Regions from separate parts of the Homo sapiens genome. Here all the other regions are linked to region 1. The links are contacts of gene promoters, found by promoter capture Hi-C in human tissues and cell types (Jung and others, 2019). All regions are on one chromosome and are shown on one strand. Each heading gives the region's core, a stretch centred on a gene start or on the middle of the fragment in contact. The rest is flanking DNA. Distances are from core to core; before and after follow the strand shown.

What was found. The method cuts DNA at HindIII sites, captures the fragments that hold promoters and counts their contacts. A contact is called where the count stands out against the background at its distance.
Region 2: a contact is called between a fragment that was not itself captured here and the fragment with the promoter of CABP7 in region 1, in 4 of the 25 tissues and cell types used here (IMR-90 fibroblasts, mesendoderm cells, spleen and 1 more).
Region 3: a contact is called between a fragment that was not itself captured here and the fragment with the promoter of CABP7 in region 1, in 7 of the 25 tissues and cell types used here (IMR-90 fibroblasts, dorsolateral prefrontal cortex, hippocampus and 4 more).
Region 4: a contact is called between a fragment that was not itself captured here and the fragment with the promoter of CABP7 in region 1, in 4 of the 25 tissues and cell types used here (bladder, dorsolateral prefrontal cortex, lymphoblastoid cells and 1 more).
Region 5: a contact is called between a fragment that was not itself captured here and the fragment with the promoter of CABP7 in region 1, in 4 of the 25 tissues and cell types used here (IMR-90 fibroblasts, lymphoblastoid cells, mesenchymal stem cells and 1 more).

What each region holds. Positions count from the first base shown.
Region 1 is chr22:29,718,244-29,721,308 of GRCh38, forward strand. CABP7 (calcium binding protein 7) reads left to right here and starts at 1,760. Exons shown (of 5, transcript NM_182527.3): 1 at 1,760-2,290. The coding sequence starts at 2,182. It overlaps CABP7-DT (CABP7 divergent transcript), which reads right to left and starts at 1,660. Exons shown (of 3, transcript NR_186695.1): 1 at 1,305-1,660. The HindIII fragment of the contact is 29,567 bases long and covers 1-3,065 here.
Region 2 is chr22:30,168,244-30,171,017 of GRCh38, forward strand. The region is part of intron 10 of HORMAD2 (HORMA domain containing 2); the gene reads left to right. Among named protein-coding and RNA genes, the nearest start is that of LIF-AS1, 70 kb to the right of the region's middle. The HindIII fragment of the contact is 4,667 bases long and covers 1-2,774 here.
Region 3 is chr22:30,030,691-30,033,588 of GRCh38, forward strand. All of the region lies in intron 3 of HORMAD2-AS1 (HORMAD2 and MTMR3 antisense RNA 1), which reads right to left. It overlaps MTMR3 (myotubularin related protein 3), which reads left to right. Exons shown (of 20, transcript NM_021090.4): 20 at 1-178. Among named protein-coding and RNA genes, the nearest start is that of MIR6818, 25 kb to the left of the region's middle. The HindIII fragment of the contact is 4,791 bases long and covers 1-2,898 here.
Region 4 is chr22:30,123,454-30,126,271 of GRCh38, forward strand. All of the region lies in intron 10 of HORMAD2 (HORMA domain containing 2), which reads left to right. Among named protein-coding and RNA genes, the nearest start is that of HORMAD2, 44 kb to the left of the region's middle. The HindIII fragment of the contact is 8,876 bases long and covers 1-2,818 here.
Region 5 is chr22:30,051,072-30,053,785 of GRCh38, forward strand. The region is part of intron 1 of HORMAD2-AS1 (HORMAD2 and MTMR3 antisense RNA 1); the gene reads right to left. Among named protein-coding and RNA genes, the nearest start is that of HORMAD2-AS1, 28 kb to the right of the region's middle. The HindIII fragment of the contact is 4,537 bases long and covers 1-2,714 here.

The DNA.
Region 1 (3,065 bases), core at 510-3,009:
AGGGAGGTGATGCCCGGCACCTTTCCTACATTATGTCACTTCATCCTCACCGCTGCCTGGGATGTGGCACTGCCACCTTAACAGGCAGGGAAACTGAGGCTATGGCCGGTTAAGGGACCTGACTGTAGTTCCATGGTGAGGAGATGGTGGATGCAGAAGCCCCAGTCTGCCTGGCTCTTGGTGCTGGGTTCTTACTTCCTCAAGTCTCTGCTCCATCAAAAACACTGGGGAAGCTCAAGGCATTCAGCTCTAGCGGTGGAAGGTCAGAAGATGGGACAGGTGGGCAAGGAGAGCTTTGGAGTGGGGTGGGAGCTTTTCTGGGGCCTCTCTCACCTCCAGGCCCAGGTCCCAGTGGGCAACCAGCTAGCCCGGAGAGGTCTGGGGAGACAGACAGACAGCTGGTGTCCTTCCTGGCTCCTCCGCAGGTTATAGATGTTTCTAGGAGCTCCCTCCAGAGCAGGGCCCAGGAAGTGCTGGGCCCAGGCTGACCCAACCCCGCTTGGCTGGGGCTAGCATCTCTCACTGAGCCCCTTCTCCCCAGACCCTGAGACAAGGCTGCGATTAATCAGTAACAAAAACAGAAACAAGCAGAAAAGTGTAATCAGCTTGGGAAGGGCAGGGCAGGACCGGGCAGGGCTGTGCAATCAGCGTTCCTGCTGGGACCTTTAGCTGATTGGGCCAAAGGGGGCAGGGAGGTGGTCCCAGTAGGGGGATTCAGGGAAGCACCCAGAGATGGGGCCACAGCCAGGCCAGAAGGTCACCCCCTCCCATGCACATCTGTGCACCATATGCCCACACCACTCCCAGCCCCAGGGCCTGCACACCTCCCCCGACCTGCCAGCGTACAACCTTGGCACACACAGGTGGCCACACACTCCCGACATTTGTCCATCTGCATATGGAGTCACAGACACCTGCGCACGTGCCCAGTGGCACATACACACCCTCATGGATAGCAGACATATGCACACGCAGGCTGCTCCCTCAAACACCTGCCCCCACCCCAGCTCTGGGGTGCCGACGTGCCCTGGGGCCTGGGGAAGCCCTGCACATACATTAGGTCTGAGCTGCAGCCATGTGAACTGGCAGGCCCTCACACCAGACCCCACAGGCACCGGGCCATGTCTCTGTCCCGAACTGCCCTGGGGGCCATGAGACACTTTGGCTCCTCTTCTGCAAGCTGAAAGGTAGGGGCTTGGGAAGGGTCCGGGACTGGGGCCCCATTGTGGGGAGCAAGGTCAGCGGCAGGGTGTCAGTCACAGGCAGGGCAGGAAGCCTACCCCAGACGTGTACCCAGCTCTTACCTGCTGCTCCTGCCCTGTGACCTTGGTCAACGTCCTTCTCTCTCAGCCTCAGTTTCCCCACCTTGGATCCTCCTGGCACGGAAACGGTGACTCTTCTTGAGGACCCAGGTGCTTGGGGCCAGTCTCACCTCTCTGGGTCTACAGTTCTTAGTTCCGGGCTCTCCGCTCCTGGTGCGTGGATGGGGGAAGGTGAGCCAAGGGGCAGGAAGGAGGACCCCCGCAACCCACCCCCTCCCTGGTCCTGGTGGCTGCAGACTTAGGGTGAGGAGAGCCAGTGAACAGAGGGGAGCCCTAGTGGGAAAGGGGAATCGGGGCCGAAGGGGAGAAGGAGCCCCGGGCAGGTTTGGGGCGGCCGCTCAGGGGCCGGCGGCGGGAAGGGGCGGGCTGGGGGTGGGGAGCGCGGAGGGGGCGGGCGGGCGGCTGGCGGGGGAGGCGGGGAGCGCAGCCAGCGCGGCACAGAACGAGCGAGCGAGCGAGCGGAGAGGCGGCTACAGCCTGAGCGCCGGGCCGGTAGCGGCCGCGCCGGCGAGCGGACTAGCGGGCGGCGAGCAGCGCGGAGCGCGCGGGGCACCGAGGAGCGGGCGCGGCGGGCACCGCGCGAGGCAGCCGGAGCTCTCGGAAAGGCCAGAGCGGCGCCGCCCCCGCTGCCCCTGCGGGGCCCCGGCTGGGAGCCCGACGAGGGAGCGGGCGGCATGGCCCGGCGGCCCGGGGCGCGGGGGCGCTAGGCCCCCGGAGGGGCGTCCCCAGCCTCGCCGCTGCCGCCGCCGCCCTCCGCAGCCGCGCGCCCCGCCCGCTCCAGCCGCCCCCGGGGCCGCCACCGGCCCATGAGCCCCGGCCTCAAAGTTTGCGGCGGGCGGGCGGGCGCGGAGCCTCCAAGATGCCGTTCCACCCGGTGACGGCGGCGTTGATGTACCGGGGCATCTACACCGTGCCCAACCTGCTGTCGGAGCAGCGCCCGGTGGACATCCCGGAGGACGAGCTGGAGGGTGAGTGTCCGCCGGGATCCCCGCCCCGGCGGCCCTCCTACCTGTGCGCCCAGGTGAAGCGCGGGCCAGGGGCGCGGGGGCGGGGGGCGGGGGGCGGTCCGCAGGTGCCGGTTGCCAGGTGGGCGCCCCAGCTAGCAGCTGTGCCCCGCGGCAAGACCTGTCCGCACCCCGGGGCGCCGCGGTGGGGGTCGCTCAGGCGGAGAGCGGCCCAGCCCCTGCCCGCGTGGTCCCCAGCGCTGCGGAAACTTGCCGGGCCCCGCAGCGGGGTCACGGGGCCGCGCAGTCGGCGGTGACGGTGCGGCAACGCGGCGGACTGGGGCGGGGGTCCGCGCTGAGCCCCCAGCGCCGGCCCGGCCGGAGCACCCGCATCCTGATCCCCTCCGCGGCGCCCGCCCGCGGCTCTCTGCTCGCATTGACATTCCGCTCGTGTCGCTTTAAAAATTCAATCTGCTCGGGCAGCAGCAGAAGGGGAGAGGGCGACTGCCCTGCTCTTGCCCGCTGCGGGGCCGCCCCCGTCCCCACCTGCGGCCGTAGCCCCTTCCCTGCAGCCCTGCGGGGACCCCCAGCCCGGCGCGCCGGGAAGGCGGCCCGGGAGGCGGTGGCGACAACAAGTGGCCGGACTGGGCGGCTAAGTCGCGATAGCCAAGCCTGGAAGGGAAAGGCAGAGAGGCCAGGACCCAAACCCGCCCCCACCCCGTTCCCCCTGCCTCTCAGACTCGCAGGGGGATGGCAGGCCGCTGGCTGGGCGAGGTCAGAGCAGAGGGCAGGGGCAGGG
Region 2 (2,774 bases), core at 70-2,569, 450 kb after region 1:
TCATAGAAATAATTAAGGCCATCAAACATAAATCATTCAACTTTCTGCTCTCATATTTAAATGTTTACCTATATCTGTATCCATTTTACCTCATTCCTTCGGACCTCAGAAGAAGTAATATCCTTTCTTTTGTCCCAAGTGAATACTTCTTTAGATATGTGCCCTTGATGCAATTTCCTTCATCCTTAGCTCCAGGTCACATAGTCAATGCCTGGTGGACATCTTCATTTGGATACCTCATTCCAATTCAGAATATTGAAAACAGAGTCAGTTGTTTCTTCATCCATCCTCCCTACCATGTTCCTACCTCCTACTCCCTCAACTTCTATTTCCCATCTTGGTCACCGGCATTACCAGAAACTTGGGTAATTTTTGTCATGTTTTACTCCTTTCTTTCCTTTACTATACCTGTGCTTATTCCAATTAATGATCAAGTCATGGTAGGGCTCAGGTTCAGGCACTCATTCTGTCTCTCCTGAGCCCTCTATCCTTTTAATGTTTTCCCTCTAACTTCACTGCGGCTTTTGGTCTTGCTCAGATCATTCATTTTCTGAAGTAGCCTCATTGCTTCTCGTCTTACTCCTCTCCAATCCACCCTTCACACTGCTGCCATAGGGATCTTTCTAAAACAGACCTACTCTTGGAACCCTTCAGGGCTCTCCATTACAGACTCTCATTACAAAGTCCAAACTTTAAAGAATGACATTGTCTGACCCAGCCCACCACTCCCACACCCTTCCTGTTAGCCCCATTGAGCTATACCCAATTCCCCAGAGGTATCCTGCTTTATATCCCTGTACCTGTGCTCCTTCTGTCTAAAATGTGTTATCTGCAACCCCATTTCCTAATGCTGTTTGCCTGGTGAATGTCTGCTCATCTTGCATTACTTAGTTCAAGCTTCATATCCCTTTTGAAGCCTTGCCAGGCCTCCCCAGAAAGAACTGATAAGATCTTTTTGGAACCCCTGCTGTACCCTATATATGACTCTGTCATTTCCTCTGTAACCTGTTTGTTTCCCCGTACCAGGCCTTCTTTGAGGACATGAAGTGTCTTGATCAGCTTTGTATCTTTAGTGTTTAACACAATGTCTGGCACAGAGAAGGTGCCCAAAAAAAATTTATCAAATAAATGAATTAATTATAAAACTTTTAAAGTTATATGATGCCTTAGAGAAGGGAGTAAGGAAGAACTTATGTAACAACTTTTGGAGATAAATGGAAATATCTGATTATGAGCCTAAGAAGAATACACATTTACCTCCTAAGTAGAGATAGTCATGGTCCAGAACTCTGGTCACAAACTACAGAAGATAAAGAAATTAATTGAATGGGCAAACCCCTCATAAGTCCCAGTAAAACATGAGACACTTCCCAATGCGCTCTTGATGTGATTTCCTCCATCCTTAGATCCAGTTCACATAGTCAACACCTGGTGAACATCTTCATTTGGATATCTCACATCTAATTCGGAATCTTAAAAACAGAGTCAATTATTTCTCCATCTATCTTCCCCACCATTTTCCCACCTCTCACTCCCTCAACTTCTTCTATTTCCAATCTTGGTCAATGGCATTACCACAAACTTGGATAATTTTTGTCATGTTTTACTCCTTTCTTTCCTTTACTGTACCAACATATCAAGAAAGCTTACAGCTCCACTGGTGTTGGACATAAGTATTCTCTCAAAGCATTTGCTTTCTTACTGCTTATTCATCACAATGTTAACATAAACTTCATTTACGTTAATAGCATTTATTTTATAATTACTGTTGATCTACCTTTCATTGTGCCAAAAATATAAATGTTAAGGGAATCAAAACTAACATCAGTGGTATAACTTACTTTTAGGGACATAGATCCTTTGAACCATGGAAATCTTTGATCTGGAAACTGCCAAATCCAAAGATTCTAGACATAAACTTAACTACAAATTTATACTGGTGAGGACTGGTTTTCTCAAGAGAAAACATTTTGCCAGATCTGACTTGAAAAATAATTTTGAAGTGAGCAAAATTCACTACACTCACCCCAGGCACACAACTCACTGTATTTCCTGGCTGCCTGGGGCTGCCCTCTCCCGTGGTTCCCCATGCAGGTCTACCTCCTCATGCAAAACAAGTACCGTGCCCTGAACTGCCTTTCCTGTGTCACAACATATCTGTCTTTTTTCCAAAGCCTGTGAGGCTCTGCTTTTAGTAGGCTGACACTTGGAGACCACTTGGTAAATTCACTTACACTAACATAATATTAAGTAAAAATTCCAGGGGAATTTACATTTTTAACAGGAGTATGTTGGATGCATAATACCTAACCATAAGAGCTAATCTAATAAAGGGACATTTCCTACCATCTCATATATTTTCCATGTCTTTTCATGTTTCATTGTCTTTAAACATATTGAACTTTCTGCCTAGAATAACCTCCCCCTGCTCCCACCACCATTTCCAGTCTGGTGAACTGCTGCTCTTCCTTCAATACCCAGCTCAATGTCTCTCTTCTAAGGAGCCTTCTCTAAATTCCCCAGCCTGAGTTGGTCCCTCCCTCTGGACTTCTATAAAACTTTGTGTACTTGTCTCAATTTCTTTAGTCTTTTATTCACTCTTCAAATGACTTCAAGGTGACTTCTACCCTCACCAATCCAATGCACTAAGTAAACCCCATGTGGTGAAATCAAGTGGACATATTTGAGTCCTCATCTTCCTTGCCCTCTCAGCAACACCTGACACTATTGACCACCACCTTTTAATTTCTCCACTCCCTCTTCTTAAAACCCCC
Region 3 (2,898 bases), core at 366-2,865, 310 kb after region 1:
GTTTAGAGGCGGAAGGGACCTTAGGTCACCTACTTCCACGGTTTTCATACTGTTCTCTGGGGCCTCGTGGAGAGGGAGCCTCCAGGCCCATTCAAAGCTTTATTAGATTTAAAAGTAAGATCTGGTATGAAGAAAGGTTTTGTTTGTTTCTTAAAATAAAAAGTCTGAAAATCACTAATCCAATCTCCTCCTTTTTCATTGAGGAAACTGAGACTCAGAGAGGGCCAAAGACATCCAGATTACCAATGAGTTAACAGCAAAATTTGAATAAAAGTCATTCTTGGCCAGGCACAGTGGTTCATGCCTGTAATCCCAGCACTTTGGGAGGCCGAGGTGGGAGGATCACTTGAGCCCAAGAGTTCAAGACCAGCCTGGGCAATATGTTGAGACCCATCTCTACGAAAAATATAAATAAACCTGTCTCTACAAAAAATATGAATAAACTAGTCAGGAATGGTGGTGCACACCTGTAGTCCCAGCTACTTGGGAGCCTAAGGTGGGAGGATCTCTTGAGCCTAGGAGTTTCAGGCTGTGGTGAGCCATGATCACGCCACTGCACTCCAGCCTGGGCAACAGAGGGAGACCCTGTCCCATAAAAAAAGGAAAATACTTTCCCGACTCCTAACCCTCTTCTTGTGCTCTTGGGCCTCCAGAAAGCCTGATGTAAATAGCTGTATTGGTTCTCGTTGAAATCTCAGCGAGGAGCTTAGGCAATTGCCATCACAAGGCTTGAATTATGAGCCCTTCTCTCCCTCTTAACCAAAATCAAAATGTTGTGATAGTCTAATCCAGTGTTTTTGTTTTTAACTTTTCAAATACATAAAAACAAATGATATGTTATTAGCATGAATCATCACAGTTTAAGTCATAACATCTTAAAATCAGTGGGCTTGGGGAGGGAGCATTTTTCATTAGTGCAGATGATAGGTTCACTGTGAACTGTCCCAGCATCCAATTTCTGGATTTTGTTTTAGTTGTTATATAATATGGGGGAGTTTAATTTTAAAAAATTTGAGTTTTATAGGTAAGCGGTTGCAAATGGTAGTAGTCACAGCTTGCCTGCAATCTCTTGTTGACAAAACTGAAGTACATGCCTGAAAAAAGGGATTAATAGAAGAATATCCAAAACCTGCTTTCAGTCTTTATCATCCATATATCAGATGAGAGACACCCAAAGATTTATAAGCACTAAAATTACTTTATGCTCAGGGCCACCAGGTCTGAGTTGGCCCTGGGCCTAATGATCACAGCACTAAGCTGGTGCCCTCCCAGTCAGTGACCCCTGCAAAGGCCACACACACACACACAGCAATACAGACTGTACAGTGAAGTCTCAAGCAGCCTCACTGAATGTGTTTTAAACCTTTGGGTGTATATAGTTTAAAAGACGGTTATTAATATTTATCAGGACATTATTTATTAATATCAGGACAAATTCTCCTGAGGCAGTGCCACAAAAGTTGGTTTGAAAATCACCAGTTTGGTGGAAAGCCCCTGTGTTTTAGAGCCCACAGACCTGGGGTGGGATCCTAGCCCTGCAGCACCAGCTGAGTTGCTCATGGGTGTATGAGGAACTCGGAGACATTTCCTCATCTGTAGCAGAGCACATGGCATATAAATGGAGTGGGAAGGTGGGGGCCTAGCAAATGCTGTCCTCCCCACTGTCCCATGAAATGAGATAGATAGATGATAGCATTTCTGTCTCTGGCTTCTAGCAGGCATTTGGAACAATCAATCAGAGCCAGGCAGCACTTCTATTCCACTGTGTGTTGAAACTAGACCCTGCTCTCGCTTCCACCTTACAGGGGAAAACATTTGACTTTGAAGCATTCCAATCTGAGTTTTGCACTAAGTTACAAATGAATCACTAGCTGAAGAAGACAAACTAAAGTTCATATATGTGTTTTAGTTTTATTTATTTTGAGACAGAGTCTCACTTTGTTACCCAGGCTGGAGTGCAGTGGCGCGATCTCGACTCGCTGCAACCTCCGCTTCCCAGATTCAAGTGATTCTCCCGCCTCAGCCTCTTGAGTAGCTGGAATTACAGGCACCCACCATCATGCCCAGCTAATTTTTGTATTTTTGTAGAGATAGGGTTTCACCATGTTGGCCAGGCTGGTTGAACTCCTGACGTCAGGTGAAATGCCCGCCTCAGCCTCCCAAAGTGCTAGGATTACAGGCGTGAGCCACCGTGCCTGGCCTTATATATGTGTTTTGTTTTTAAATTAACATTTTGTAAACAGATGGTGGTCTGCATGTGCACCGATGCTTTAAGAGTGTATGGAGCCAATGGGAAGGGAGTGTGGAGAGAAACTGCTTGTTGGGGTTGAGGCAGCATCTAAGAACGCCTGAGTCCTGCCATGGCAACAATCCTGCAAAGACAGACAGGACCTCACTTTGTTAAACTGATGAGTTTAAGTTGTTCAAGACTAAAGACGAAGCCAGAAGATGCAGACTAGCTTCGCAGGCTGAGAAGTGGGGAAGGTGGAGCCAGGTGGACCTCGCCTCTGCATCACAGAGGCCTGGGTCCAGGCTATGGTGCTCTTAGCATCTCTTTAAGAATAAATCCCAGAGCCCAAGGTTGGAAGAGGAAGTGGAGGCCTTGCGTTCAGATGGCCCTCCCCACCCTCTCCAATGACAGAGGAGCCCAAGGTTGCCCAACATATTTAAGGCCATGTCATCCGAGTTCAAATAGACATGAGTTTGTAGTAAGTGGTTGCTGCACTTTGCCAGCTGGAAGATCAAGCCTTAGAACTGGAGGTTCTTTCAAGTCCCCCAGAAAGTGCTGGCATACAATGTGTACCAGGGCAGCTCCCTCTTTAGAAGTCCCTGTCAGCCCTTGGGACATAAACTGCATCCCCTGGCCCCTTGGGGGTGGTCTGATTCTTTCTGTTCTCT
Region 4 (2,818 bases), core at 112-2,611, 400 kb after region 1:
GAGTAGCTGGGACTATAGGCACATGCCACCACACCTGGCTAATTTTTTATTTTTTAATTTTTTGTAGAGACAAGGGTCTCACTGTTACCAGGGCTGGTCTTAAACTCCTGGGCTCAAGCAATCCTTTCACTTTGACCTCCCAAAGTGCTGGGATTACAGGTATGAGACACCACACTGGGCCTCAGCTAGGTATTTATTTATTTATTTATTTATTTATTTATTTATTTAGGGAAAGAGTCTTGCTCTGTTGTCCAGGCTTGAGTGCTGGAGTGCAGTAGTTGATCACAGCTCACTGCAGCCTTGACCTTCTGGGCCCAAGTAATCCTTTCAGCTCAGCCTCCAGTGTAGCTGAAACCATAGGTGTGCGCCACCACACCCAGCTTATTTTTTATTTTTTTTAGAGACAGGGTCTCCCTATGTTGTCCAGGCTGATCTTGAACTCCTGGGCTCCAGTGATCCTCCTGCCTTGGCCTCTCAAAGTGCTAGGATTACACCACACCTGGTTAGATTTTTACCTTTTAATTAAGAATTTCTTTCTTTTTTTTTTTTAATCAAATGAAAGCAGGACAACCTAAGAACGCATAGTTCAACTAATAGATTAAATAAGAAATGTGATAATCCTTCTCAAGCATACATTTAGTTGAAACTATATGTATTATATGGACTTTGTGGTAAACTTAGTTGATTGAAGTTTCTCTCTCAGCCAGCCAAACATATGAGAGAATTTAGTAAGTCTAGTAAAGTGGTTACTGTCACTTTCCCACTAAGGATTCCTTTTTGTTTTCCTTCATGGAATACATGGAACACACACACACACACACACACACACACACACACACATACATACATGTGTATACATATGTAGAATCTTTATTTCTTTTAAAAATTTTATTTTGAGATATACATATAATAGACTACATAAAAATATGTACAGTTTAAAGAATAATGAGAACATCCATATGTCCTCCATTTAGGCTAAGATGTAGAACATTGCTACTCCCTTAGAAGCCACCACGTGTCCCTTCCTCATTGCACGCCCTCTGAAGGTAACCACTCTCCTGACCTTCATGATAACCTTTCCTTGCTCTTCTTTATAGTTTTGCCATGGATGAGTACATCTACTCGTTTTAAATTTGTATATCAAAGTAATCATACTCTGAGTATTCTCCTTTAATTTTCTTTTGCTTGAACTTCAAAGTTGAGATTTAGCCATTGTGTTATTGTTCTTTCATTTTCACTGCTGTAGAGTTTTCTACTCTTGATAGACATTCTTTTTAATTGCTATAAACATTCATGTACATACCTCCTGGTACACCTGTCAAAGAGTGTCTCTTGGGAATATATGAAACAGTTCTAGGCTTGTGTATTTTCAACTATATTAGGTAAAGCAAAACTGTTTTCCAAAGTGGTCGTACCAACTTACTCGCTACCCCCAGTGAAGGAGAGTACCCTACATTCTTGCCAACACTTATTGTCAGGGTTTATGTTTCCTGCCAGTCTGCTAGATATGAAATGGTAATGCCTCATGATGTTAATTTGAATTTCTCTGATTATTTGTGTGTTTGTGCATCTTTTCTTTGGCCATCCTATTTTGCTCATATTAAATAGCTGTTCATGTCTTTCATGCATTTGTCTCTCAGGTTATTTATCTTTTCCTCAATGGTTTAAAAAATATGTGCTTAGTAATAATTCTTTTTCACTCATTTATGTTGCAATATTTTTTTCATGTTTGTGGCTCATCTTTTCACTTTCTTTTTCTTTTCTTTTTTTTTTTTTTTTTTTTTTTTTTGAGACAGAGTTTCCTCTTGTTGCCCAGCAGGCCTGAGTGCAATGGCACAATCTCAGCTCACGGTAACCTTCTTTCTCCTGGGTTCAAGTGATTCTCCCGCCTCAGCCTCCTGAGTAGCTGGGATTACAGGCATGTGCCACCACACCCAGCTAATTTTGTATTTTTAGTAGAGACAGGGTTTCTCCATGTTGGTCAGGGTGGTCTTGAACTCCCGACCTCAGGTGATCCGTCCGCCTCAGCCTCCCAAAGTGCTGGGATTACAGGCATGAGCCACTGTGCCTGGCTCATCTTTCACTTTCTTTAAGAGGTCTTTTGAGCAATGTAAGTTTTTAATTTTAATATAGTCTAATCTTTTCCTTTAATATGTGCTTTTGGATATCCTTAAGAAATCCTCTACCTAAGGTCATTAATAATATTCTCATATTTTATTCTAAAAGTTTTAATGCTTTTCTTTTTACATTTAGGTTTATAATCCACTTAAAGTTTATTTTCATTTATGGAGTGAAATAGACCAGACTTTCTTAACACTTTTAAATTCAAGAATAATAAACATACAGTAAAACATATGTATCAGTGATACAGCTCAATAAATATTCACAAACTGAACACTAGAGCTGGGATGAGGGTGATGCAAGCAAGGTGCCTAGGGAGCATATTTTAAGGAAGATCTCAGGTGCCAAGAGTAAGGACCTCCTTACATTTTGCCCCCTGGACATCTTGCTTGCTTTGTCTTTGTCACAACCCTACTGAATAAATATGTGAAATCAGCACTCAGATCAAGAAATAGAATTCTTCCAGACCCTGAGAAACCCCCAGTCTTATTTTACAGTCACTATTCTGCTCACAAGAATATTGCTATCCTGACTTCTATTCGCATAGATTAGTTTCTCCTCTTTATTTTATAGACATGGAATCATAGAGTATGGACTTTTTTTTTTTGAGACGGAGTCTCCCACTGTCTCCCAGGCTGGAGTGCAGTGGTGCGATCTCTGCTTTGCTCACTGCAAGTTCCGCCTCCTGGGTTCACGC
Region 5 (2,714 bases), core at 190-2,689, 330 kb after region 1:
GTGAGCTGAGATTGTGCCACTGCACTCCAGCCTGGGTGACAGAGCGAGACTCCATCTCAAAAAAAAAAAAGGAAAATAATAATAATAATAATAACCCGTTATTTGTCTTTTCATTTGCTTTCTCTTTCAAGTATACAGTGGAGTTTCCAAACACTGAGTGACATGTGAGAGCTTAAAAAATTAAATGCAGAAGTTGATTTAAGAATCCAGCTGTCTTCTTTTGAGCCAGACATTAAAGAAATTTACAAAGATGTAAAACAATGACATTCTTCCCATTATCGTTTTGTTTTAGACAATGTAGTTATTTTTCATTTAAATGTTATGTTAATGTGTAATGAGTTTATTAGTGTTATTTCTAAATGAGTTAAATATTTTAAAGTTTCTCTATTTTGGGCTGGGTGTGGTGGCTCACACCTGTAATCCCAGCACGTTGGGAGGCCAAGGTGAGTGGATTACTTGAGGTCAGGAGTTCAAGACCAGCCTGGCCAACATGCAAAACCCTGTCTCTACTAAAAATGCAAAAATCAGCCAGGTGTGGTGCCACACGCCTGTAATCCCAGCTACTTGGGAGGCTGAGGCAGGAGAATTGCTTGAGACTAGGAGGCGGAGATTGCAGTGAGCTGAGATCGCGCCACTGCACTCCAGCCTGGGTGAAAGAGCAAGACTCTATCTCAAAAAAATAAAATAAAATAAAAATAAAGTTTGTCCATTTCAATTTATAATATGGTAATTTTTTTTTTTTTTTTAAACAGGGTCTTACTCTGTCACTCAGGCTAAAGTGCAGTGGTGTGATCAGAACTCACTGCAGTCTCAAACCCCTGGGCTCAAGTGATTCTCCTGCCTCAGCCTTGTGACCAGCTGGGAGTATAGGCACACACCTTCGTGCTTAGCTAATTTTTACATTTTTTGTAGAGATGGGCTTTCACTATGTTGATAGGCTGGTCTGGAATTCCTGCGCTCAAGTGATCCTCCTGCTTCAGCCTTCCAAAGTGCTGGGATTAGAGGTTTGAGCCACTGTGCCTTGCTAATATGATAAAATGTGATAGCTGTTAAATAAACACAGGATTTTTAGGGGTCCATAGTAATTTTTTTTATTAAAAGTGTTTTAAAAGTGAGGTATAATTTATATACAGTAAAATGCACAAGTCTTAAATGTACAACTCAATTAATTTTTACGTATGTATACACCATGAAACCTTCACCCACTTCAACATACAGACCATTTCCTTCACCCTGGAAGGACCCTTGCACCTTATTGAATCAATACCTAGTCCTCCGGAGGTAACCATTATTCTGATTTCTACCACCATAGATTAGTTTTGCTTGATTTTGAATGTCATATGAATGGAATCATATACTTTTTTGTTTGGCTTTTTTTTTTTTAATCTCAGCATAAAGTTTTTGAGATTCATCCATGCTGTTCTGCATATTACAACATTTTTTTACTTTTATTATTGCTGGTGATATTCCATTCTCTGATTATATCACAAACTGTTCTATGTTTTTCTTGATGGATATTTGGATTTTGTCAAGTTTTTGGCTATTAGTAATTAAGTGGCTATGAATATTCTTGTATAAGACTTTTGGTGGACATATAAACTAATTTTTCTTGAGCATATTCCTGGATGTGGAATTGCTGGGTCCTATAGTTGGCTTTATAAGAAACTGCTGGCCAGGTGCAGTGGCTCACACCTGTAATCCCAGCACTTTGGGAGGCCGAGATGGGTGGATCACTTGAGCTCAGGAGTTTGAGACCAACCCGGCAAACATGGTGAAGCCCCGTCTCTACTAATAATACAAAAATTAGCCGGGCATGGTGGTACACTCCTGTAATCTCAGCTACTCGAGAGGCTGAGGCACAAGAATCACTTGAACCCAGGAGGTGGAGTTTGCATTAAGCTGAGATTGCAACACTACACTCCAGCCTGGGTGACAGAGTGAAACTGTGTCTCAAAAACAAACAAACAAACAAAAAACGAAACAAAGGCCAGGCGTGGTGGCTCATGCCTGTAATCCCAGCACTTTGGGAGGCTAAGGTGGGCGGGTCACCTGAGGCCAGGAGTTCGAGACCAGCCTGGACAACATGGTGAAACCCCATCTCTACTAACAATACAAAAATTAGCCAGGTGTGGTAGCACATGCCTGTAATCCCAGCCACTTGGGAGGCTGAGGCAGGAGAGTTGCTTAAACCCGGGAGGCAGAGGTTGCAGTGAGCTGAGCTCACCACTGCACTCCAGCCTGGGCGACAGAGTGAGACTCTGTCTTGGAAAAAAAAAAAAGAAAAAGAAAAAGAAAAGATCGATAATACTAAGTGGTGATGAGCATGAGTAACAATTGGAAATCTCATACATTGCTGGTAGAAATACAAAATGGTAAAGCCATTTGGAAAAACAATAGGCAATCTCTTATAAACATACTCGTCCATTTGACATAGCAATCCTATTTTTAGGTATTTATCCAAGAGAAATGAAAGCATATCCATACAAACACCCGAATGTGAATGCTCATAGTAGCCTAATTCAAAGTAGCCCTAAACTAGAAACAATCCAAAAGTCTAACAACTGGTGCATGGATAAACAAATTGTGGCCCATCCACATAATGGAAAGCTACCCAGCAATGGAAAGGAACAAACAAGTGATACATGCAACAACATGGATGAATCTCAAAAGCACTGTGGTCAGTTGAAAAAAAAAAAAGGCAAACACAAAGGAGT